Linked DNA regions of Homo sapiens: all the other regions are linked to region 2. The links are contacts of gene promoters, found by promoter capture Hi-C in human tissues and cell types (Jung and others, 2019). All regions are on one chromosome and are shown on one strand. The core of a region is centred on a gene start or on the middle of the fragment in contact, and the rest is flanking DNA. Distances in the headings are between cores, read along the strand shown. Region 1 overlaps ATP8A2 (ATPase phospholipid transporting 8A2). Region 2 holds the start of AMER2 (APC membrane recruitment protein 2). Region 3 overlaps ATP8A2 (ATPase phospholipid transporting 8A2). Region 4 overlaps LOC105370119 (a long non-coding RNA gene).

The links. The method cuts DNA at HindIII sites, captures the fragments that hold promoters and counts their contacts. A contact is called where the count stands out against the background at its distance.
Region 1: a fragment that was not itself captured here is called in contact with the fragment with the promoter of AMER2 in region 2 in 2 of the 25 tissues and cell types used here (IMR-90 fibroblasts and spleen).
Region 3: a contact is called between a fragment that was not itself captured here and the fragment with the promoter of AMER2 in region 2, in 2 of the 25 tissues and cell types used here (dorsolateral prefrontal cortex and spleen).
Region 4: a fragment that was not itself captured here is called in contact with the fragment with the promoter of AMER2 in region 2 in 1 of the 25 tissues and cell types used here (spleen).

Annotation. Positions count from the first base shown.
Region 1 is chr13:25,393,158-25,398,741 of GRCh38, forward strand. All of the region lies in intron 1 of ATP8A2 (ATPase phospholipid transporting 8A2), which reads left to right. Among named protein-coding and RNA genes, the nearest start is that of ATP8A2, 24 kb to the left of the region's middle. RefSeq lists enhancers at 4,146-4,747, 4,748-5,349. The HindIII fragment of the contact is 4,979 bases long and covers 1,060-5,584 here.
Region 2 is chr13:25,169,921-25,175,584 of GRCh38, forward strand. AMER2 (APC membrane recruitment protein 2) reads right to left here and starts at 2,368. Exons shown (of 1, transcript NM_152704.4): 1 at 1-2,368. The coding sequence starts at 1,699. LINC00463 (long intergenic non-protein coding RNA 463) reads right to left here. Exons shown (of 4, transcript NR_120428.1): 3 at 3,993-4,167; 4 at 2,904-3,402. RefSeq lists a silencer at 858-947 and an enhancer at 3,227-4,426. The HindIII fragment of the contact is 4,196 bases long and covers 1-3,656 here.
Region 3 is chr13:25,374,178-25,379,723 of GRCh38, forward strand. All of the region lies in intron 1 of ATP8A2 (ATPase phospholipid transporting 8A2), which reads left to right. Among named protein-coding and RNA genes, the nearest start is that of ATP8A2, 5.0 kb to the left of the region's middle. The HindIII fragment of the contact is 5,148 bases long and covers 1-4,908 here.
Region 4 is chr13:25,032,899-25,038,210 of GRCh38, forward strand. It overlaps LOC105370119 (a long non-coding RNA gene), which reads right to left. Exons shown (of 3, transcript XR_941760.4): 3 at 1,604-5,312. Among named protein-coding and RNA genes, the nearest start is that of PABPC3, 61 kb to the right of the region's middle. The HindIII fragment of the contact is 8,497 bases long and covers 1-5,312 here.

The DNA.
Region 1 (5,584 bases), core at 2,299-4,798, 220 kb after region 2:
CTTGCTCTGTCACCCAGGCTGGAGTACAGTGGCATGATCATAACTCACTGCAGCCTCAACTTCCTAAGCTCAAAAAATCCTCTTGCTTCAGTCTCCTGAGTATCTGGGGCTACAGGCGCGTGCCACCATGCTTGGCTAATTATCTTTTATTTTTTGTAGTGATGGGATCTCACTATGTTGCCCAGGCTAATTTCAAACTCCTGGCTAAGTACTGGGATTACCAGTGTGAGCCACCTCACCCAACCTATTTACATACTTTTTTTATTGTTGTTTTTTGAGACAGGGTCTCACTCTGTCACCCAGGCTGGAGTGCAGTGGTGCAATCTCAGCTCACTGCAACCTCTGCCTCCTGGGTTCAAGTGACTCTCCTGCCTCAGCCTCCAGAGTAGCTGGGATTACAGGTATGTACCACCATGCCCAGCTAACTTTTGTATTTTTAGTAGAGATGGGGTTTCACCATGTTGGCCAGGCTGGTCTTGAACTCCTGACCTCAGGTGATCTGCCTGCCTCGGCCTCCTAAAGTGCTGGGATTACAGGCATGAGCCACTGTGCCCAGCCCCTATTTATATACTTTTTGACTCCTCTATATAACTTACAGCATCTTAGGAATCTGAGGTTCATTTTATGTTGTGCATGCCTTGACTATAATACATGCTCAGTACACATTTATTGACAATCTGACATAAGACAGTGGGGTTAGCTGGGAAGGGTCCAGAGTTCTGCATCAGGTAGACTGAGGTTGAATCTTGAACATTGATCATGGGATCTTGGGAAAACTATGAAACTTATCCAAGACTCAGTGTAGTAACCTATAAAACAGGAATATTATCTTAGGATCAATGAGAGGAACTGCAAACTGCCTAGCTTTTGATAGTTATTCTATAAGTACTGTTTTATTGTCCTGGTTGTTTTAAAAAAATGAAGTGAATGATCACTGTAACTGTCATCACCTTGTAAGTGCATCTTTAAAGCAGGTTGTAAAGATTCTGATGGATGGTTTCAGTATTTTAGGTGGAGTTTACAGCCTGTAGATGAGCTTGGCTTGTTCTCTATAGTGTGATTAGACATGTCTGCCTGTTCTGGCCATTGGTAGGCTGAGAGTCTAGTGGAAGGAGAGCTCATTACTGGCTAGCAGTGATGCAGGGAAGTTGGATTCAGGCAGGCATCAACAAAGATGTTGCTCAGGATAATTCATTAAGACATAAACTTGCTTTGTGTAATTTTTGGTATCTGTGTTTTACTTAACAATAGAAAACAAAATAAAAGAAGCAAACTGAAAACCAAGACAAAATAAAACTCCAAGTCTAACTAGGATGTGGCAGGCTGAATCCAGGCTGTGCCCCCGAGCCTGAGGGGCAACCAACCAGAAGAGGAAGATAAAGACAAAGCAGGAGGCGGCAGAGACCAATTGCTGGCCGGATTGATGACATAGGTCAGATCTAGGCTTGCCAGGCCTGTGAAGGGGACCATAATATGTCACCCTGAAATATGCCTTTTGGACTAAGGGTTATTTTGAGCTGAAGGCAATTAAGAAACATCAGATGCAGAAAGGAAAAAAAAAGGCTTACTGTCCTTCCCCTATCTGGCTAAAAACAGAACATAAATTTCCATTTGTAAAAGTGTCTCCCTCTCCCATACCAGAAAAAGCACAATAACTCTTCGTCACCTGAGATGACTAGAGTCTTATCAGCCCAGAGCAGTGAGTGGAGCCTGCATGACAAGCCTTACTAAAGCAGCCTTATCTTCCATTAATTTCCCCACATATTTACCCTCCCACAATTTATTGCCCTTAGAAGCCTTCCCTTTTCCTTTGTCTTGTCACAGCTTCACAATTTATCATTCTTTGTTGAAGTAGTATGTAAGCTCTCTAGCCTATGTACTTCTTTGGGTCTCTCTCTATATACATACAAAGACTCTATGTCTTCCTAAAACTATGATGTCAAATAAAATTTGCATGTCTTTTCTTCTCTTCATTTGTCTTTTTTCAGTTTGATTAGCAGGGCCCTCGCTCCTGAACCTAGGATGGTAGAGGGGCAGGGTTTTCCACCCACTATTGGCATTCTTCTGGTCATCCCTCAGTAGGCTGCTGGTCCATCTGCAATGTGTCCACTTAGTTACCAAAGCCAGAGATCTTGTCTTGGGCCTGAGGGGGCTTCTGTCTTTTTTAAAAATGCCTTGAGACTCTGCTTGTCATCCTCACCTTCAGTTCTGTGGCTTGTAGGGGTCAAGGGAAAGCTTTCCCTTCGCCCTCTGAAAGTTTGCTGAAAAAATCTACTCAAAAAAGGCAGATTACTTGGAGAAAAGGCATACACATTTATTAACGTATACATGGGAGCCTTCAGAATAAAGACCAAAAGATAAAGGAAAATTGTCCATTTTTATGCTTAGGTTTAACAAAGTATGGAGAGCCAGGAAGAGAGATGATTGGACAGAAAAGGTGCAATCATAGCTCACTGCAGCCTTGAACTCCTGGGCTCAAACGATCCTCCCAGCTCAGTCTATTGAGTATCTAGAACTACAGGCATGTGCCACCATGCTTGGCTAATTTTTGAATTTTTTTGTAGAGATGGGGTCTTGCTATGTTGCTCAGGGGTGTCTCAAACCCCTGGCCTCAAGTGATCGCCCTGCCTCAGTCTTCAAAAGTGCTAGAATTACAGGCACGAGCCACTGTGTCTGGCTGATCCAATTTTTCTTTCTTTTTTTTTTTGACGGAGTCTCACTCTGTCCCCAGGCTGGAGTGCAGTGGCGCAATCTCAGCTCACTGCTACCTCCGTCTCCTGGGTTCAAGAGCTTTCCCTACCTCAGCTTCCTGAGTAGCTGGGACTACAGGTGTGCATCACCATGCCCAGCTAATTTTTTTATTTTTAGTAAAGAGGGGGTTTCACCATGTTGGCCAGGATGGTCTTGATCTCCTGACCTCGTGGTCTGCCCGCCTTGGCCTCCCAAAGTGCTGAGATTACAGGTGTGAGCCACCACGCCCAGCCCTGATCCAATGTTAATAGACTGAGTGGGGAAACCCAGCAAGGCCTGCCTGTCTGGATTCTTCTCGTTCTCTTGGAGCAGCCTATCTTCCTTCTTGGTGTGGAGTGGGATCCTCTCTGCAATGAGGAACTTAGGGCCTACAGTCAAACAAGGTAGGTCAGATAACTTTCTTATGGCCAGTTTTTACACAGAAAGAGGAAAAGTTAGAGTGCTTTTTTTAGGTTTTATGGCTGGCCTTGGGGAAAAGGGGTTCTAGTTTCTATGACCTACCTTGAGGAAGAGGGATTCTAGTTTTTATGGCTAGCCTGGGGGATGATGGGACTGAGAGACAATAGGGCAAAAGAAGGTCAGAGAGAAACTTCTGCTTCTGAGGCCTTGATTTTAGGGTATTGTTTTCTCAGTCCCAGCCGGCTTCTGTCCTGGCTCTTACCTCTAGGAACATGGCCTAATTTGCCCTTGACCCCGGGTAGCCTGCAATCATGAGGGTGCTCTTGGGTGCATTACTATCTTCATGTTCCCAATCTTTGCTCTCACGAACTCTATTTTGGGGCTGGAAATTTCATGTTTTTAACACTGACTCTTAGTTGTGGGCGAGCGCCTGCCACTAGCAAGTATGCATTTCCTTTCCTTTCTACTTTCAGGCTTTTCAGACACATCTATTGCGGGGAGGACTCTAAAAACTTTGCCAATATATGCAATGTTATCAATCCACTGGCATGACTGTGGTGAGACAGAACACTCACACAGCAAGCTTTCAGCAAAGCAGCTTTATTACTCACAGATAGGCAGCAAGAGATGGTAGAAGCCTGGGCCCATGGCGGACCAGTCCCTCAGGGTTCAGGAAAGCTGCCCAAGGCGGATGGAGTCTTGTCTTTGACACCAAAGGCGTGCCCCTTGGTGGGGGTGGGGGTGGCTGTTTTCGCTGAGTTAAATAAAGCCTTGCTGGACATCCTGTTCTAGGAAGACGGGAACAGAGCCTAGGCTGTTCTGGTCAGTGCCTCCTTATCTCAGGTTGTCGCATTCCCAGCACATTCTCCAGTTGTCCTTAGGAACTACCAGTGAGGAGGGGAAGAGCTGGGTCTCCAAGGCCATGCAGACAGTTGTCCTATAGCACCTTAGAAAAAGGCTTGTCTCCTTCTTATAGGACCTGGTGAAAGTCCACATGAATTATCAAAACCATCAATATACTGATATTTTTCTGTCAAGTCATAAAACACCAGCCTCTATGAACAAGTGGTTGAAATCCTGTGACGCTCAGGTCCCTTTCAGCCTGCCTACTCTGCTGCTGCTGGCCCATGACCACAACTTCCTAATAAGGCGTGGAGGGGTCCTCTCTGCTCCTCACCCACCTTGACTCAGTGCACAGTCACACTCCAGGACGGGCTGCTTGCAATATGGGTCCATTTCTGGGGACCCATTTTTCTCTTCACTGGGAAACCCTGAGAATTTTCCTTTACTATTGGTCATTATGCTTTGTTGAGGAAAAAAGCCAGACTCTGTAAAATATTTGAAAAGGTTTATTCTGAGCCAAATGTGAGGATCATGACCTGTGACAGCCTCATCAGGTCCTGAGAACATGTGCCCAAGGTGGCTGGGTTACAGCTTGATTTTATGCATTTTGGGGAGCTAGAAGTTATAGGCAATGGCATAAACCAATACATATAAGGTGTACATTGGTTTGGCCAAGAAAACTGTGACATCTCAAAGTGGGGGCTTCCAAGTCATAGGTGGATTCAAAGATTTCCTGATTGACAATTGGTTGAAAGAGTTCAGCTTCACCTGAATTGTTGAAGGCAGCGGGAAGAAATGCATGGGTTAAGATAAGGGGGATTGTGGAAGCCAAGGTCCTGTTATGTAGATGAAGCCTCCAGGTAGCAGCCTTAGGGAGAATAGATGGTAAATGTCTCTTATCAGAACTTAAAAGGTGTCAGACTCTTAGTTAATCTCTTGGATCAGGAAAAGACCTGGAAATGGAAGGAGATTCCTTACAGAATGTAAATTTTCCCCACATGAGATGGCTTTGCAGGGCCATTCCAAAATATGTCAAAAAAATATATTTTGGGGTAAATACTTTGATTACCTTTAGAGCCTGTTATCTGTCATGTGATGCTACACCAGAGCAGACTGGAGTTGGGGTCTTATTGCTAAAAAGAGTCTATTTTGTCAGTCTTTGGATCTCTACTTTAATGTTAATGATGGTCATTTGCGCCTAAACATCAAAAGAGAGAATGTATAATGAGGTATGTCTGACCCCCTCCTTCCTATCATGGCCTGAGCTAGTTTTTCAGTACTTCTTGGAATCCCCTTGGCTGGGAGGGGATCCATTCAGTCGGTTGGGGAGCTTATAATTTTATTTTGGGGTTACAGCTTTCATATGTACAATTACCCAGTTGTGATCACTGTGGGCCATCTGGTGCATGGGGACAGCCCTTGCTCCCCCTGGCTCACTGCTGTGTCCCTAGTGCTAGACATACAGTAGATGTTAATAAACATTGTTGACTACATGCCCTGTACTAAAACTTCTGGAAACACAAATTTGAATGAGACTTAGTCCCTGTCCTTGAGGAACTCAGGAGGGGAGGAAGGTGTCTGCAGAATTATT
Region 2 (5,664 bases), core at 1,118-3,617:
CTGGACTTCCGTCCGGGTCAGCATAGAGATCATAGAGCGCGTCCCCGCTGTAGCTATCCCGGGGGATGCCCGCCTTCTTCCCGCTGCTCGAGCTGTCTTCCTCTGGGCCTGGCGTGGTGGAGTCCCAGTAGCCCTCGTCGCTGTTGGGGACGCCTTCCTGCTGCTCCTTCTCCGGGTGCTTGGGCTCCTCCTTAGGATGGGGCTCGATGGGAATCCGGTTGAGCCTCCTGCGCTTGACCGAGGACGCGTCCTTGGCCGCTTCCACACACCTGGTGTCTTTGGGGGTCTCGGGCACCACCTTGGTTTCCAGCGCAGCTGCCACCTTAGCCGCGCCCTCCTGGGGCTCGGGTCCCTGCTCCTCGGTCTGGGAGAGCATGTCCCAGAACTCCTGTAGATAGGTGTCGTCCACCTCGTCCGGGCTGGCCATCTCTTCCCCGCCTCCTTGGTAGGCCACCACGCCGGGGTTCTTTTTAGACAGAGCCGGCTTGCCTGGCCCGGGGACATGCTTGTCACAGCTGGGACCTGCCTCTTCCTCTTGGTCTGCAATAATATCTCCACAGCCTGTAAGAGAGTCAAAGCTTTTCAGTGAAGTCACGTCAGAAAACATCAAACAAATACGATCTGCCGACGGGTCTGAGGGTGGATCGACAGAGGCAGGGTCTGGGGCGGCGGGCGCCCGGCCGCTGCCGCCTTCGGAGTCGACAAGGGGGACCGTCTTTACGGGAACGGCCCCCGTCCTGGAAGCGTCCTCTGCCGTGCGGACCTCCCCGGGCCCCGGCTCGGCGCGCCGATGCCCCGCGGCGTCCTCTCCCCGGGCGCCGGTGTCGCCGGGGTGCGCGAGGCCCTCTGCCTCTCGGCAGCTCCGCGCTGGGGCGCGGTCGGCGGGGGCGGGCACCTCCTCTCCCCCTGCGGGCTCACCTGCTGGGTCTCGCGGGGCGTCCTGGCTGGGCTCCTCCGGCTCGCGCGCGGCTCTGGGCGTCTCCTCCTTGACGCACTCCAGGCTGGCGGTGAGCGAGCCGGGTAGGATCAAGCCGCCCCCGGGCGCGCGCCCCTCCGCGGCCTCCGCCTTGGCCCGCTTGTCTTTCCTGTGCCAGCGCATGCCGCTGAACAGCCCCCGCAGCCCCCGCTTTTGTTTGCCGCCGGCCTTGCTCGCGTCCACAGGCTCTCCCTTGCCGTTTTCCGAGCGCCCGTTCTTCTTCAGCAGCGAGAAGAAGCTGTGCGACTTGGCCACCGAGCTGCTGGCGAGGGAGCCCCCGCCGGGCCCTGCGGCTCTGGGGGGCCCCGGGTTCGGCCGCCCCCCGCCGCCCCCGCCGCTGTCGCCCCCGCCGCGCGGCTCCTCCTTCCTGCCGCTCTCCAGCACCAGCACCTCGGCAAGTCCGTCGTGGGTCCTGCTCCTCACCAGCCCCGTCGGACCCGAGCTTTTCCCGTCCCCTTTGTTTTTGACCCCAAAAATGCTGGGCATGGTGCCACCCGATTTCCTCTTCTTGAATAATTTGAAGGCAGCTTTATTAATCTTCCCCGACGGCGGCTCGGCGGCCGGCGTTTCGGCGGCACAGTCACAATGCAAGTCCATGTCTGCCGCGAGGGTCCCGGTCCCGGCCCCGGCCTCCGCCTTCCTCCTGCAGACCCCCACGGACGCGCCAGCTCCGCCGCGCTCGCTGACAGCCCCGCCGCCGCCGCGGCTCCGGCTCGTCTCCATGGAAACCGCGCGGGATAAGCCGCTTTCGTCAGCAGTGGGCTCGCGCCAGGCCACTGTCACCCGTATTCTAAATCAACCTGAGCCGCGCTCGCCGCCGCCGCTGCAAAAGAAACACACATAAAAGACCATCTTCCCTCCCGCAAGGGCTTATATAATACCCTAACCCACTTCCATCCGACTTGGCTCGGCGCTGCATGGCGTTTTTGTGGCAGGAGCAGGCAACACAGCCGCGAGCTGATTGCAGAAATTCGAGTCGTAATTATGGAATTCAAATTCCCTCAACTCTCACCCACCTTCGGATTCCTTCTCTAGACTCGCTCTTCACGGGAGCGCAACCATGGATCACGAAATGCCTCTAAAAACGACAACGCAATTCAACCCACCACAAAATGCTTGTTTTTCTTATCCTCTCTCCTAGACTCCCTGCATCTTCATGCCTTTCCCAAGCCCTTCATGTCTGTCCTTAGCATTGGTGCACTAAGCCCAGCAGGCAGGAAGCATGTCTGCCTACATCCATGTCTTGTCCAGAGCTGAGCACACGCTAGGTCCATGCTGTGTGGCTGTCATTGTGGTTATGGTTCTTGTGACAAAAGTACACGCCACCACTCAATCAGTCTATCAGCAGCCCAGCAATGCAAGCACAACAGCTCCCCGGGGTGGAGTTTGCCTGCACCTTTGGGACAACCATGACTTTTATCCCAGACTCCAGCCACCACGGGATGAAGTCACAGATGCTGCGGCACAGCCCACATCTGATAACAATAGACAAGCTGACCGAGACACACAGGCTGGGAATCTCAGACCCACTCCACAGGTGGGCCTTCGAGTCCGGGTTCTGCCCTCTCCTTTCCCACTCAGCAGGACAGTGGCATTATTCCTGTCACTGCGGTACCACTCCCCTCCCCCATACCACCAGGGCTGACTTGTAGTCCCCTTCCCCAATGTACAGAGCAGGAAAAGCTTGGCAGGGGTCCCTGTGTGTCCAGGGATCTCTGCAGACATTCCTACCTGCCTGGTCTGGGGAGAGGGAAAACCTTTTTTCTGGGAACAGCTCAGTCTAGGGATCTGTTCTGTGTTCTGATTTAAAAAGTGACTGCTAATATTCTAATCTTGACATCTGATTTCATAATCCCAGCTGAGTGCTTTTTAGCAAAAAGAAATTTGGAGAAGCATATACATATATAAATATAACATGTATATATAGTATATATTATTTAATCATTTGATTATTTATTAAATATCATTTAAGAATATATGTAATAATTACATATATACACAAACAGTAGTCTTTTCCCTACTCATTTTTTATATGCTCTTTGCATTAGGCCAATAAATCCCAATCCCCATCCACATAAGTTGGCGTTTTATAAATGACGTATGTTGGCCATTGCAGCTTCTGTTGTTATGAGATACAGCTGGTTAAAATTTAGACCTTGGAGTTCTTAGTTGTATTATTTCCTTTTTTTGTTTATTTTTTTCAAGAACACTGTTTTGTAAAACGAAGAAATCAATGAGTTCAGGTTCAGGAGAGGTTGTCACTTCCAGACTCTAATCCCATCAACTCTTTCTCACTATTGATGAGCATCTCTCCTGGTACAGGAAGTAAGGTGAGGCCAGAGAGAGGCTTTCCCGGATTCTAATTGACCGCTTGACATGATGAATCAGAGTCCTCAGTGCTTTCTGGGGAGACCACGTGTAAGGAACTGTAAAGAGAAACCCATTTGTTACGTCTTTACAACCTTTTGAAGAACAATAGAAAGTCTCTCAATTTTACACACATACACACACACACACACAAACACACACACACCCATACAGTTGCTTAGATTTGTGGGTTACTATGTAGCTCTGTCAGTTTGGAAGAGTTTGTGACTGGGATCAAGGAAAAGTAAGTCGCCTATTAAAAAATCTCCCTTTCTCCACTGGGAGAAAGTGGTCTGCTTATTCACCCATCAGGACAGGTCAAATGTGACTCTAATTTACATGAGAATCTTTGGGCCTCCTGGGAGAAATCTGATAGAGGACTTTGGGATGGATATCATTCTTTTGGGACATCAACACTCAAACAAAGAGAAAGAGACAAAGCTGTCTTCAGCCTGCGGAAGGTGCCCTCACTGTGAGTTACTGGCCCTGAGATAGAAGAAAGCAGGGACCCCTGGAACAATCTGAAGGCACTGGGCATGGGAGCTGTAGAGGCTGCGGTGTGAGTGAGGACCCTCCAGCGTCCTACTCAAAGTCCTTGTTACAGAGACAGTGGGAAAAACGAGGGTGAAGTCAGCTGAAAGGAACTTACCCCAAAAGCCAGACAGGTAAGGAGAGACTCTGTAGGGGAGAGAGATGAGGCGCAGGATGGTCCAATGGTTTGTTGGTTAGAGCCAGGTTATGAATCATCACAAAGACTGAGCCATACCTTATATTAAACTTCACAGTCAAGAGTGGAGAAAGCAAAATGGTGATTTTTTTTTTCCCTGAGAGACAGAACATGACAGTGAAGATAATTTTACCGTAAGCACTCCCATTTTTGTTTATAGTTTCTTCTTTCATTCTTTTCCCCCATCCTGCCCCAGCTTGGGAGTGAATAGAAAATTAGAGTAGAAAGGAATAGAGAACAGGACCGAGGGGAAACATTTCAGGGAAAAGCCATTCCAAAACAATAAGACGTATCACAAATGCAAACAGCAAGTGGATTTTGCTGGAAGACATGTGTGGGCTTTTCTTTGTTGGCACCAGGAAGTATTTGTCGTTTTGTTGAGGCTTTTTTCTCTAGGTAGTGAGCTTCTCTGGAGGATGGTACTCAAAAGGAAAAAAAAAAAACAAGAGAAACACAGGAAGAACCATTTGAGAACTTAACGTCGTCGTCATCATCATCATCATCATCATCATCATCACATCATCATCACATCATCATTTCCTTTTTTAGGGTGCCTTCAAAGCAGTCCAGCCCTTTGCCCAAAGCTTACTGGGTGGAATTTCTTTCTTTCTCTTTCTTTCTTCTCTTTTCTTTTTCTTTCTTTCCTTTTCTTTCCTTTCTTTCTCTTTCTTTCTCCTCTCCTCTCCTTTCCTTTCCTTCCTTTCCTTCCTTCCCTTCTTCTCTCTCCCTTCCCTCGCTCCCACCCTCCCTTCCTCCCTCCCTCCCTCCCTCCCTCCCTCCCTTCCCTTCCCTTTCCTTCCTTCCTTCCTTCCTTCCTTCCTTCCTTCCTTCCTTCCTTTCTTTCTTTCTTTCTTTCTTTCTTTCTTTCTTTCTTTCTTTCTTTCTTTCCTTCCTTCCTTCTTTCCTTCCTTCCTTCCTTCCTTCTTTCTTTTTTCCCAGAGTCTTGCTGTGTCACCCAGACTGGAGTGCAGTGGCGTGATCTCGGGGCTCACTGCAGCCTCTGCCTGCCAGGCTTAAGCAATTCTCCTGCTTCTGCCTCGCCTGTAACTGGGATCACAGGTGTACGCCAACAAACCCAGCTAATTTTTTTTTTTAAGTAGAAACGGGGTTTCACCATGTTTGCCAAGCTGGTTTCAAATTCCTGACCTCAAGTGATCTGCCCGTCCCGGCCTCCCGAAGTGCTGGGATTACAAGCATAAGCCACCGCACCCAGCACTGGGTGGAATTTTCTATCCTAGGTGAGCCACCGAGGAGCTTCCCTTTGAGCTGCTGTGTGGCTGCTGCTAAGGGACTTCTCATATGTCATAGCATTGCTGCTTAAGGAGGCTGCTAGCTTTACCTTAAACTTGCTGTGGGTCTTTAAAGGGATAATGGTTCATCAATACGGTTTGGAAATAATACCTGAGTTGAGACTACCACCTCCCATCTGCAGACCACTTGGCCAGCTCCTGACCTCACCCCAGGCTGAAATGTCTACCTCCCTGCTCATGTCCATTCCCACCTGGGATTATCCTCCAAGGTGGACTTGAGAAGCTGTGCTGCCAGTGAGAACCCCCAAATGTCCAGCCCAAGTTCCTCTTTATGAGATGAACAG
Region 3 (5,546 bases), core at 1,085-3,584, 200 kb after region 2:
GAGTGCTCTGAAACTCAGTGTGGAGATGTTCAGGAAGGGGTGGGGTGTACCTGTGCCCAGTGCTGCTGAGCTCAATAAAGATGAGGCTGGAGAACTGTCATGTAAGTGGAGGTCACTGGTGATCTTGAAAAGAGCTGTTAACATATCATTGTGGGGAAGAACGCCTAATAGAGCAGGTGTAAGAGTAACAGGACAGGAACTGGAAACAGCAAGTCCGGAAAACTCTTTTGAGTGAATATTGCAGAAAAGGCAGGGGGAGAAGCAGATCGAGTGGTAGCTGGAGGAAAATGTGAGTTCAAGAGAGGTCGCTTTGTTTTGAGACTGTTCTACAGTCTGACGGCATGAACATCAACGCAGGAAGCTTTTAGGGAGCAGGGGGGAAGGCAGTGATCTGAGAGTAACCGTGAGAAGCAGGGTCCTCCTGGCAGAGCAGTTAAGGCAAGAAGTTTCAGGAATAGTCAGAGGGGTCGGGTTGTGAGGGATCTTGCTGATGATAGGCTGAAAGTTCCAGGAGACAGAGTGGAGGCTCTGAGATGGGGCCTGTTTAGGGTATTTGCATAATGTATGGAGAAGAAAGAGGATCTGCATAGTGTGGGCTCCTGGGGACACTGATGGAAACAGGGGCAGAGGGCCTGACAATCGTGTACTCCCATAAAAATACTAAACAAAGATGTGTGATTTTTAGTGAAGTCTGCTACTTCTCATTATTAAAAAATAAACTAATGATGAAAGGATTGCAGATCACAGTCAGCTTCAAGAGTATATGCTGAGCTGTATACTATTTTTAAAAATAATTCTGGAATATTTTCTTGTCTGAGCCATCTTTGACTCTTATCTTGTTCTGCATATTCAATTGCACTTTGATCAGTTTTAGCTTTCCCCAAATATCTACTTGGTGCCAGTGTGTCTCATTTTACCAAATGATGAAAATCCAAAGATTTGTGACCATGGGGATCCTCTTGCCCGTATAGTGCTTACAGTCTGCTCAGGGTGGAGCCCCTTAGAATGGAAACAAAGTCAGTGACAAATATATATCAGTGCCTTCTATGTGCCCGGCATGGTTCTAGGTGCTAGAGACAGAGCAGGGAACACAGCAGTGTGTCTCACAGAGCTTATGGTCTAGGCAGTGACTACAGTGCACGTGGGAAGAGCTCTCAACTCTCTTCTCTCACCTTGACCCAGATGAGTAAGGAAATTAAGGGTGTACATGTGAATATGGGTGTTGGGGGTTGTGGGAGGGGAGGAGTGGGGACAGAAAGGAAGGAAGTTGTTTTCTATGGACGACAGCATCAGTGCTGTCTATGGCAGAAGCTCTTCCCTATCTTACCGCATTTCTGGACTTAGTGAAAGAACGGGCAGGCAGGAAGTGCACAGACCAAGTGCAGAACCCAGAGGACTACAAATATTCTTTTTTTTTTTTTATTTTGAGCCTGTCGTCAGGCTGGAGTGCAGTGGTGTGATCTCGGCTCACTGCAACCTCCGCCTCCCGGGTTCAAGCAATTCTGCTGCCTCAGCCTCCCAAGTAGCTGGGATTATAGGCTCCCACCACCACACTCAGCTAATTTTTGTATTTTTAGTAGATACGGGGTTTCACCATGTTGGCCAGGATTGTCTCGATCTCTTAACCTCGTGATCCACCCACCTCGACCTCCCTAAGTGCTGGGATTACAGGCGTGAGCCACCGTTTGGACCAGGACTACAAACCTTCTAGAAACTGCCCCTGGAGCCCTCCTCTAAATTCCACACCCAACTCACCCTGCCCTCTGCTGGTCATCAAAGGTATTTTTTAATGTGTGTTTTCTGTTTTTGCCAGAACAACCTGCCCCAAGTTTCAAGGAGGAGAATCAGGGCAGCTGAAAATACAAGCCGTGCTAATGTGAGAATGTAATAGCTGGAGGATATCTCAGAGATGGTCTGATCCCTTCACTTTACAAATGAAAAAAAAATTCGGAGAAATTCCTTACTTGCTGCTTAATTTCTGTCAGGACAAGCTAATTAGCAAGTCCAGTGTGGTTCTTATCATTGCCCACCTGCCTAGTTCAATATCAGATCTAAATGCAACAGAATACGCTCATTGATTCTATATGGTTTTCTCTTCCTTGATAAGAAATAAAGATAATAATCTAATTTCTCCTGCTTCCATTTCCTATACTACCCTTTGTGTGCTCAGTAATTACAGATTTTACTGAACTCTGTCATGGGCAGTTTTTGGACTTGGTCTAATGGTCTAGATTCTGTTTGGAAGTTTCTTAAGGGCAGTATATCTAGGGGTTAAAACCCCAGAATTTAGGGTTAAAGAGAATTGAATTCAGGTTTTAACACTGTCATTTCTACCTATATGGCATTCAAAAGATTCATTTACCTCTGTTACAGATAAAGATAAAAATAAGAATTTGCACTTCATGGGTGGTTGGTAGTGGTCTGTGGGTATGTGCATATAAGTGCATGCACTAACTGACACATTATCAAGATGATATCGACAACATGTTAGATTTCTCCCATGCTGCCCATCGTCATCTAAGGCAAAGTCCTCCAGCTAGGTATTTATCCTATGTAATAGAAGAATTGGCAAAACTTTTGTTATTATTTTCCTTTCTAAATCTAATGATGGAGGCCTAACTAGGAGAGGACCTCATAGTCATCACAGGAGAATTTAAATGTTCTTTTACTGTCATTATCCAGGTGTAAATGATTGCAGAAATAAGCGCTTACTCACCAGGAGCTCTGATTCTGGACAGAGTGTTCATCCTGTAGTGGCTCTGAAGGTCATCACCTTCTGTTGAAAGAAGTCCTGACTACAAGGCCGTCTTCTACCCCACAGGTGGCCAATAAGCACCTCTGCGGACGCCTTCCGTTGTCCAGTAATTGATTTTACATTTACAACGGATGTGTTATCTTAAACCCTCCTCAGAGGTGCCAGCTAGACAAATGGAATATTTTACAGTTATTTTCGAAAAAGTTTTTAAGCATTTATGAGACGAAGTGTATACAGTGCCTCTAAAGAAGGGTCTCTATTCTTCCTCCTTGGATCTTTACATTTACTAAATATAACTTCTGGTCAATACCACACTGGATACAAGATGTTATTTACATCCACTTAGGCTGGGAAAAGTGCTCAGCACAAATGTTAACAACCATTAAGAAGGGCTAAAAATAAAAGTGATCTCACTTCCATGCCTTGGGAGTTTCTCCCCATCATTATCAAGGGCAAACACAGAAACAGGACCTACTCCAGGACAGGAGAGAGCCCTTCCAGGAATAGAGTAAGGAGTGGGGACCTGTCACACCCCAGTGGCTGCCTGGGTCTGCCTGCATAGATCTGTCGTAAAAGTACCTGGATGGCTGGGCACAGTGGCTCATGTCTGCAATCCCAGTACTTTGGGAGGCCGAGACGGGTGGATCATATGAGGTCAGGAGTTCAAGACCAGCCTGGCCAACATAGTGAAACCCTAAAAGTACAAAAATTAGCCAAGTGGTAATGGTGCGTGCCTGTAATCCCTGTAACTCGGCAGGCTGAGGCAGGAGAATGACTTGAGTCTGTGAGGTGGAGGTTGTGGTGAGCCAAGATTGCACCATTGCACTCCAGTCTGGGCAACAGGGTGAGACTCTCTCTCTAACAAAACAAAACAAAGCAAAACAAAACAAAACAGTACTTGAATGGCCAAGCCTGTTGGCTCACGTGTGTAATCTCAGCACTTTGGGAGGCCCAGGTGGGAGGTTCACTTGAGGCCAGGAGTTCGAGACCAGCCTGTACAACATAGTGAGACCCCATCTCTACAAAAAAATTATAAATAGCCAGGCATTGTGGCACATGCCTGTAGTCCCAGCTACTTGAGAGGCTGAGGCAGAAGGATTGCTTGAGCCCAGGAATTTGAGGCTGCAATGAGCTACTGCACCAGTGCATTCCAGCCTGGACAACAGAGCGAGACCCTTCCTCTAAAGAAAAAAAAAAAGAGCACATGAATGATGCTGGTCACTCCCCAGCTGTGGTGGGGGAGGGTTACTGGGCCCAATATTACCATAGATACATGTGTGCTTGTTTATGTGAATAGGTCTCTTGCTCTGACGGTTCATTTCTTCCCTCCCTTACTGCCCCTGTAAAGCTTATCATATAATATTTCATGCTAAAAAGTGATCTAATCCTCATTAACTCTGTTTTTTTTCCAGAGTTTTGCATTTTTTTTTTTGTAATCATTAGTTTATAAATACTGCCCATTTTGCTTTCCATCACAATCATTCCCAGGTGAGTGTAGAAAAAGCTGCATTCAGGAATATGGTAAAATATTGCAGGAAGATTTATGCCATTTTGATTGGTTTGTTTCAGGTTGCCTGAATTTTTAATACCCCTTTCTTGTCACAGAGAAGAGAACTTTGTTATTTTTGGCTTTCACTGGAGTTCTCACTTCAGAGTTGGTTAGTATGAGTTTCTGCTTTCCAAGCTGACATGTTTTTTTCTTTTTAGCATCTGTTCCATATACAGGGTGAATAGCTACAGGGTTCCAAAACTGCGAGTGAAGCACCTCCTCCACATATTCCTCACTAGCCTGCATAACTGACAGCACTTGGCTGTCTCCGGCCCTGCTGTCCTAGCTACTCTGCAGCTCTGCCCACCTGATACTGCGCCACTGATGGCAGGCAGTGCTGTTGGGAAGAGAGCAAAGGAAGTGAGTCTGGTGCTGTGAGAACAAAGATAATAAAGGTAATTACTAATATGCCTTTAGTGTTTTTCGCATATTTTTCTTACGGATCCTCACACCATCCCTCTGAGAAATATATTATTATTGCCTCCCATTTAAAAATTCTATATGCATATTTGTATACTTTTCTTTTTAAATAAAGGCAGGAGAGAAGAAATACTCCAGATAGGAGAAATATTCTTTTCTTTTCTCCTCTTTTGCAGAGAATGTTAAGGCAGGCTCCTTAATTTTGATTCAGAGGTTTTGCATTCAGAAGTAAGTGTTCCTGTCTTGTGTAATCTTTTGCCAAATCATCAGCAATGTACATTTCACACATTGCAGGGAAGCATTTGGGTGCTCCTCCTCCCTTTTCTATCTCTAGAGATACTGTGTAAGCCAAATGCAGCACCGAGGATCCCAGGATTACTGTAAATATTTTAAGCACATTATGGAGACTGATTATATAGGAAACTGGGGTAAGCAAACTACTCCATGGAGTGAGTGAGTACTTCTCTATACTGACATTTGGAATCTCATTCCAGATATTTAGTTCAAAGACAGTTGCTTTTTTCACGGTCATGATATGTTAATATCGGGGAGCAGTTCATTCATATTCAAAGGAGAGAACAGTGGCCTGGCTGATAATATATTTGGTTACTGCACCATGGGATCAGGCCTCTTATCAGCTATTTTTAGTCACATAATGATTATCCTTGTTTAAGTCTCTTCCATTTTCTTTTTGTTGTCTTTATTCTAATGCATTGAGGAAACATAACATTGGTTTTAAAACTGCAGAATTTTTGTTTTTAACCCTCAGTAGTTACTGTATATGTAGCAAACTAAGTGGTCTTCTGGGACTCGGCGGAGCGG
Region 4 (5,312 bases), core at 549-3,048, 140 kb before region 2:
ACAGAGCAGGGAAATTTGGATGCAGAGGCAGAACCACACAGAGGAAGACGACATAATGACCCAGGGAGAAGGTGGCCACCTAGAAGCCCAGGAGTGCCCAAGGCTGCCGGAAGTGAGGATGGAGGCCTGGAGCAGGCCCCTCACAGCCCTAGGAGAAGCCTGATGACACCTCGCCCGCAGGCTTTCTGCCTCCGGAGCCATGAAGGAGAAGGCATCTGTTGCTCAAGCCGCTGTGCTGTGGTCCTTTGTTACAGCAACCACAGGAAAGGAACCCACCACCAAGTCCTGAATTCACACCAATAACCCAGGGCTCTCCCACAGGCTGCAGATCCACAATTGTAACTGGCTGCCTCACATCTTCAACCGGACATCACAAAAATACTACAAATCCAACATTTCCAAAACCTCATTCTGTTCTTTTGCACACTCTGCCACCAAGTTTGACAAAAATAAAACAAAAAGAATTTCAGCCGGGTGTGGTGGCTCATGCCTGTAATCCCAGCACTTTGGGAGGCTGAGGTGGGTGGATCACCTGAGGCCAGGAGTTCGAGACTAGCCTGGCCAACGTGGCGAAACCCCGTCTCTACTAAAAATACAAAAATTAGCTGGGCATGGTGGCGGGCACCTGTAATTCCAGCTACTTGAGAGGCTGAGGCAGGAGAATCGCTTGAACCCAGCAGACGGAGGATGCAGTGAGCCGAGATCACACCATTGCACTCCAGCCTGGGTGACAAGAGCGAAACTCCATCTGAAAAAAAAAAAAAAAAAAGAATTTCAGAGTTTTCTGTCTCAAGAAGTCATTTTCCTACATACTGGAAACAGGGTGGTCATTCCTAAAACCTCTGAGTCTGTCCCCACTACCGCCTAACTTCCTAGCCAAATCCAAGCCTTGAGAAACTCCGCTGGAACTGCCTGCTATTTCCCAACTGTGCCGACAACTTCATGGGTAAAAGATGCCATTGTGGCCGGGCGCGGTGGCTCATGCCTGTAATCGCAGCACTTTGGGAAGCCAAGGCAGGCGGATCACGAGGTCAGGAGATCGAGACCATCCTGGCCAACACGGTGAAACCCCGTCTCTACTAAAAATACAAAAAATTAGCCGGGCGTGGTGGCGGGCGCCTGTAGTCCCAGCTACTCGGGAGGCTGAGGCAGGAGAATGGTGTGAACCCAGGAGGCGGAGCTTGCAGTGAGCCGAGATTGCGCCACTGCATTCCAGCCTGGGCGACAGAGCCAGACTCCGTCTCAAAAAAAGAAAAAAAAAAAAAGATGCCATTGCTTCCTGCTTAGCAGAGAGGGGCCAGGAGGACCATTGAGGAGGTGGGGCAGCAGCAGGACCCCCAGAACCGAAGCCTGTGTCTCTGCTGTCTCATCCCTTCATTCTTCCCGGCTCGCCACAGCTCAGCTACCTGGGCTTTCACTTCCTAAACACAAAACCTCTTCCTTCCCCAGCAGGGCTTCTGCATGTCCAGCCACCTCACCTAGAATCCTCCTGGGGCCTCCTCTCCACCACTGCCCCCTGGTTTCTGTGGCTAGGTGGTTTTCGGGTAAAAGTTAATATTGTTTTTTGGTTTTTTTTTTCTTTTGGATTCAGGAGCTACGTGAGTGGTTTGTTACAAGGATTTATTGCATGACAGTGAGGTTTGGGCTTCAACTGATCCCATCACCCAGATAGTGAACACAGTGCCCAATAGGTAAGTTTTCAACCCTCTCCCTTCCTCCTGCCTTTTGGAATCCCCAGTGTCTATTTTCCCATCTTTATGTCCCTGTGCACCCAATGCTTGCCTCCCACTTATAAGTGAAAACATGTGGTATTTGGATTTCTATTTTTGCATTAATTCACTTAGGGTAATTGGCGTGGCTAGGTTTTTTGTACAATTCAGTTCTCAGCTTAAATGTCACATTCCAGAACATGCTTCCTAGCCCATGCTGTCTAGAGGGAAGCCCGTCATAGTCCCTGAAGAAGCAGTCTTGAAAGACACAATCCCAGCTCTTAAAATTCTGAAAGATCAAAAATCCCTAAAATCCAAAATCCTGAAAATATAATTCTGGAAAAAATAATTTTAAAAATTCCTGAAGATATTTACTTACATTTTAAGGGGAGTGGGTGTGGGCACAGTGGCTCACTCCTGTAATCCCAGCACTTTGGGAGGCTGAGGCAGGTGGATCACCTGAGGTCAGGAGTTCAAGACCAGCCTGGCCAACATGGTGAAACTCCATCTTTACTAAAAATACAAAAATTAGCCCGGCCTGGTGGTGCATGCCTGTAATCCCAGCTATTCGGGAGGCTGAGGCAGGATAATCGCTTGAATCCGGGAGGCGGAGTTTGCAGTGAGCCCAAATCACACCACTACATTCCAGCCTTGGCAACAACATGAGACTGCATCTCAAAAAAAAAGGGAGGGGGGGATTTATTTGAGAAACATATAAAAACACAACAGAACACTTCATAGGCCGCTTTACACAATAAAAGAAGCAATACTAGCGTACATGTTTTTGCAAGAATAAATACTCAGGTATACGACTATACCTGGCACAGATATAGCATTTATGAGCAGATAAACTGTATTCCTAAAGAAGTAGGTCAAAAGGAAAATGTGTAAACACATATCACTATGATTGGTAATTGTGTGCAACCAGCTTTGTATATGTGCTCATCTGAAATACTGTGATAAAAAACCGAAGTCTTTTGACAAGATTGATCAAAAACCACAATGGATTACCACTACATATGCAGTCACCCAAAGAGCTGAGATCTCAAAAAATGTTGTCTTTTACAAATGCAGGTGTACAAAAAGGACATCACTGAGGAGGTTTCAATGTTTTCATGTACATACACAATGTTTATACACAAAATCAACATTGAGATAATGAACTTTCATGGAGTCACATTTGCAAAAAAATGCATGAAACAAATTAGGACTCTCTAAACGTCTCTGCACAACCTATACGTCAAGTTTTGGAAATGATGCAACGATGAAATATATAGCATAGTGAATTGTTTTGCTATTTAAAATAGTGAAAAAAATAGAAGAAAAGGAAAAAAAACCCTATCCTGTGATTGTGATTTTCAGAATTTTAGACTTTAGGGATTTATACTTTAGGATCTTTGATCTTTTGGGATTTTAGCATTCAGGATTATGGTATTTGGAATTTTGTCTTATTTTCAATAAAAATGCAAAAGTAATTCAATGGAAAAGTATCATTTTTTCACCAAATGGTGCTGGAACAGATGGATGTTCATGTGCCAGAAAATGAACCTGAATCCATATCTTAGGCCCTATATGAAAATTAACTGAAATTGATCGTAGACCTAAATGTAAAACATAGATATATAAGACTTCTGTAAGAACACATGGAAAAAAAATATTGCACTCTCGGGTTAGGCAAAGATTTCATACATGTAACAACAAAAAGCACAATCCATAAAAGAAAACAATTGGTAAACTAGATTTCATCAAAATTAAAAACTTCTGTTTTTTGAAGGGCACTATTAAGAAAATTAAAAGGTGGGGAGAAAACCACTACACACCTTTAGAATGGCTGAAACTCTTTAAGGTGATGATAACAAGTGCTGATGATAACAAGTGCTGTTGAGAATGCAGAGTTACTGGAACACTCATTCATTGCTGGTGGGAAAGTGAAATGGTGCAAAGACTATGGAAAACAGTTTGGTAGTTTTTTAAAAAGTTAAAAATACCTACCACGTGACCCAGTCATTTGTACGTAGATATTACCCCAGGAGAAAAGAGCACATTTGTCCACACAAAGTCCTGTACCTGTTATTTAGGCAGTAAACTTATATTGCATCAAGTCACAGAAATGCTGGGGTCTGGACAAGGCGTGGTAATGGGGACTCAGGATGGTGGACACATGGAGGGACTGTTTAGGTAGAACTGGCTGGCGGTCTTCTTATTTGGTTTGGGCTGCTATAACAAAATGCCATAAACTGGGTGGCTTATAAACAACAGACATTTATCTCTGACAGTTCTAAAGGCTGGGAAGTCCATGTGAAAGGAAAATATCTTGGGACTCCAAAATCACTAAGGAAAACTCAAGCCGGGAACTGCTTAGGGCAAACCTGCCTCCCATTCTATTCAAAGCCATTCCTCTACTCACTGAGATAGATGCATATCTGATTTGCCACCTTTGGAAAGGCTAATGAGAAATTCAAAAGGATGTAACCATTTGTGTATCACCTATCTGTGGCCTGGAAGCTCCCTCCCTGCTTCCAGCCTTCCTGCCTTTGCTTCAAGTTTTCCCGCCTTTCCAGACCGAACCAGTGTTTCTTACATATATTAATTGATGCCTCATGTCTCCCTAAATGTATAAAACCAAGCTGTGCCCTGACCACCTTGGGCACATGTCATCAGGATTTCCTGAGGCTGTGTCACAAGCACGTCCTCAACCTTGGCAAAATAAACTTTCCAAATTAACTAAGACCCGTCTCAGATTTTCTGGTTCACATCCGAGAACACTGCATCAGCAGATTCAATGTCTGGTGAGCGCCACCTTCTGGTTCACAGGTGATACTGTCTCTCTTCATTCCCACATGGTAGAAGGGACGGGACAGCTATCTGAGGCCTCTTTTCTAAAGGCACCAACCCCTTTCATCAGGCCTCTGTCTTCACGGCTTAACCACCTGCCAAAGCCCTCATCTCTGATACCATCATCTTGGGGCTTAGATTTCAACACAGAAATTTGCCGGGACACAAACATTCAGCCCATGGCGGTGATGTACTGGATGCGGAGGAGAGTGGAGAGATACCTGAAAAGCAAGACAGAAAATTAAGGGACTGGGAAGTTACTCTGTGGGTCAAAGGAACGAATTCAGAGTGGGACATGTTGAGTTTGAGTTTTCCAGTATGCAGTTAGCTGTATGGGCTTAGCAAAATGAAATTTAACAATATGCTATTACTAAGTTATTTGTTATCTGGAGTTTACATATTCAACTTTTAAAAGATAAGTAAATCTTAACGTTAAAACAATTATGAGAATACAGATTGTTATAAAATTCTCACAAGGATATTATTCCTTCTGAATATGAACCACTTCAGTAAGGCCTCCTACCGCACTGGACTCTCCCCTGAATAAAACCTACTGTCACCAAGCCAGTACTCGATCAACGGTTTTGAAAAGTAGGTTTTACTAATTCTCAGACAATCTCCTGTTTCACAGCAGAACCCCAAAGACTCCCACAGGCTGCACAAACAAATAAAAGCACATTTTGTAACAACAGCCAATATAAAGAAGAAGGAGGGGAAAAAACCAAGAGCCTAACTGAAAAGTGAACAAAGGAAATGAACAGATAGTTG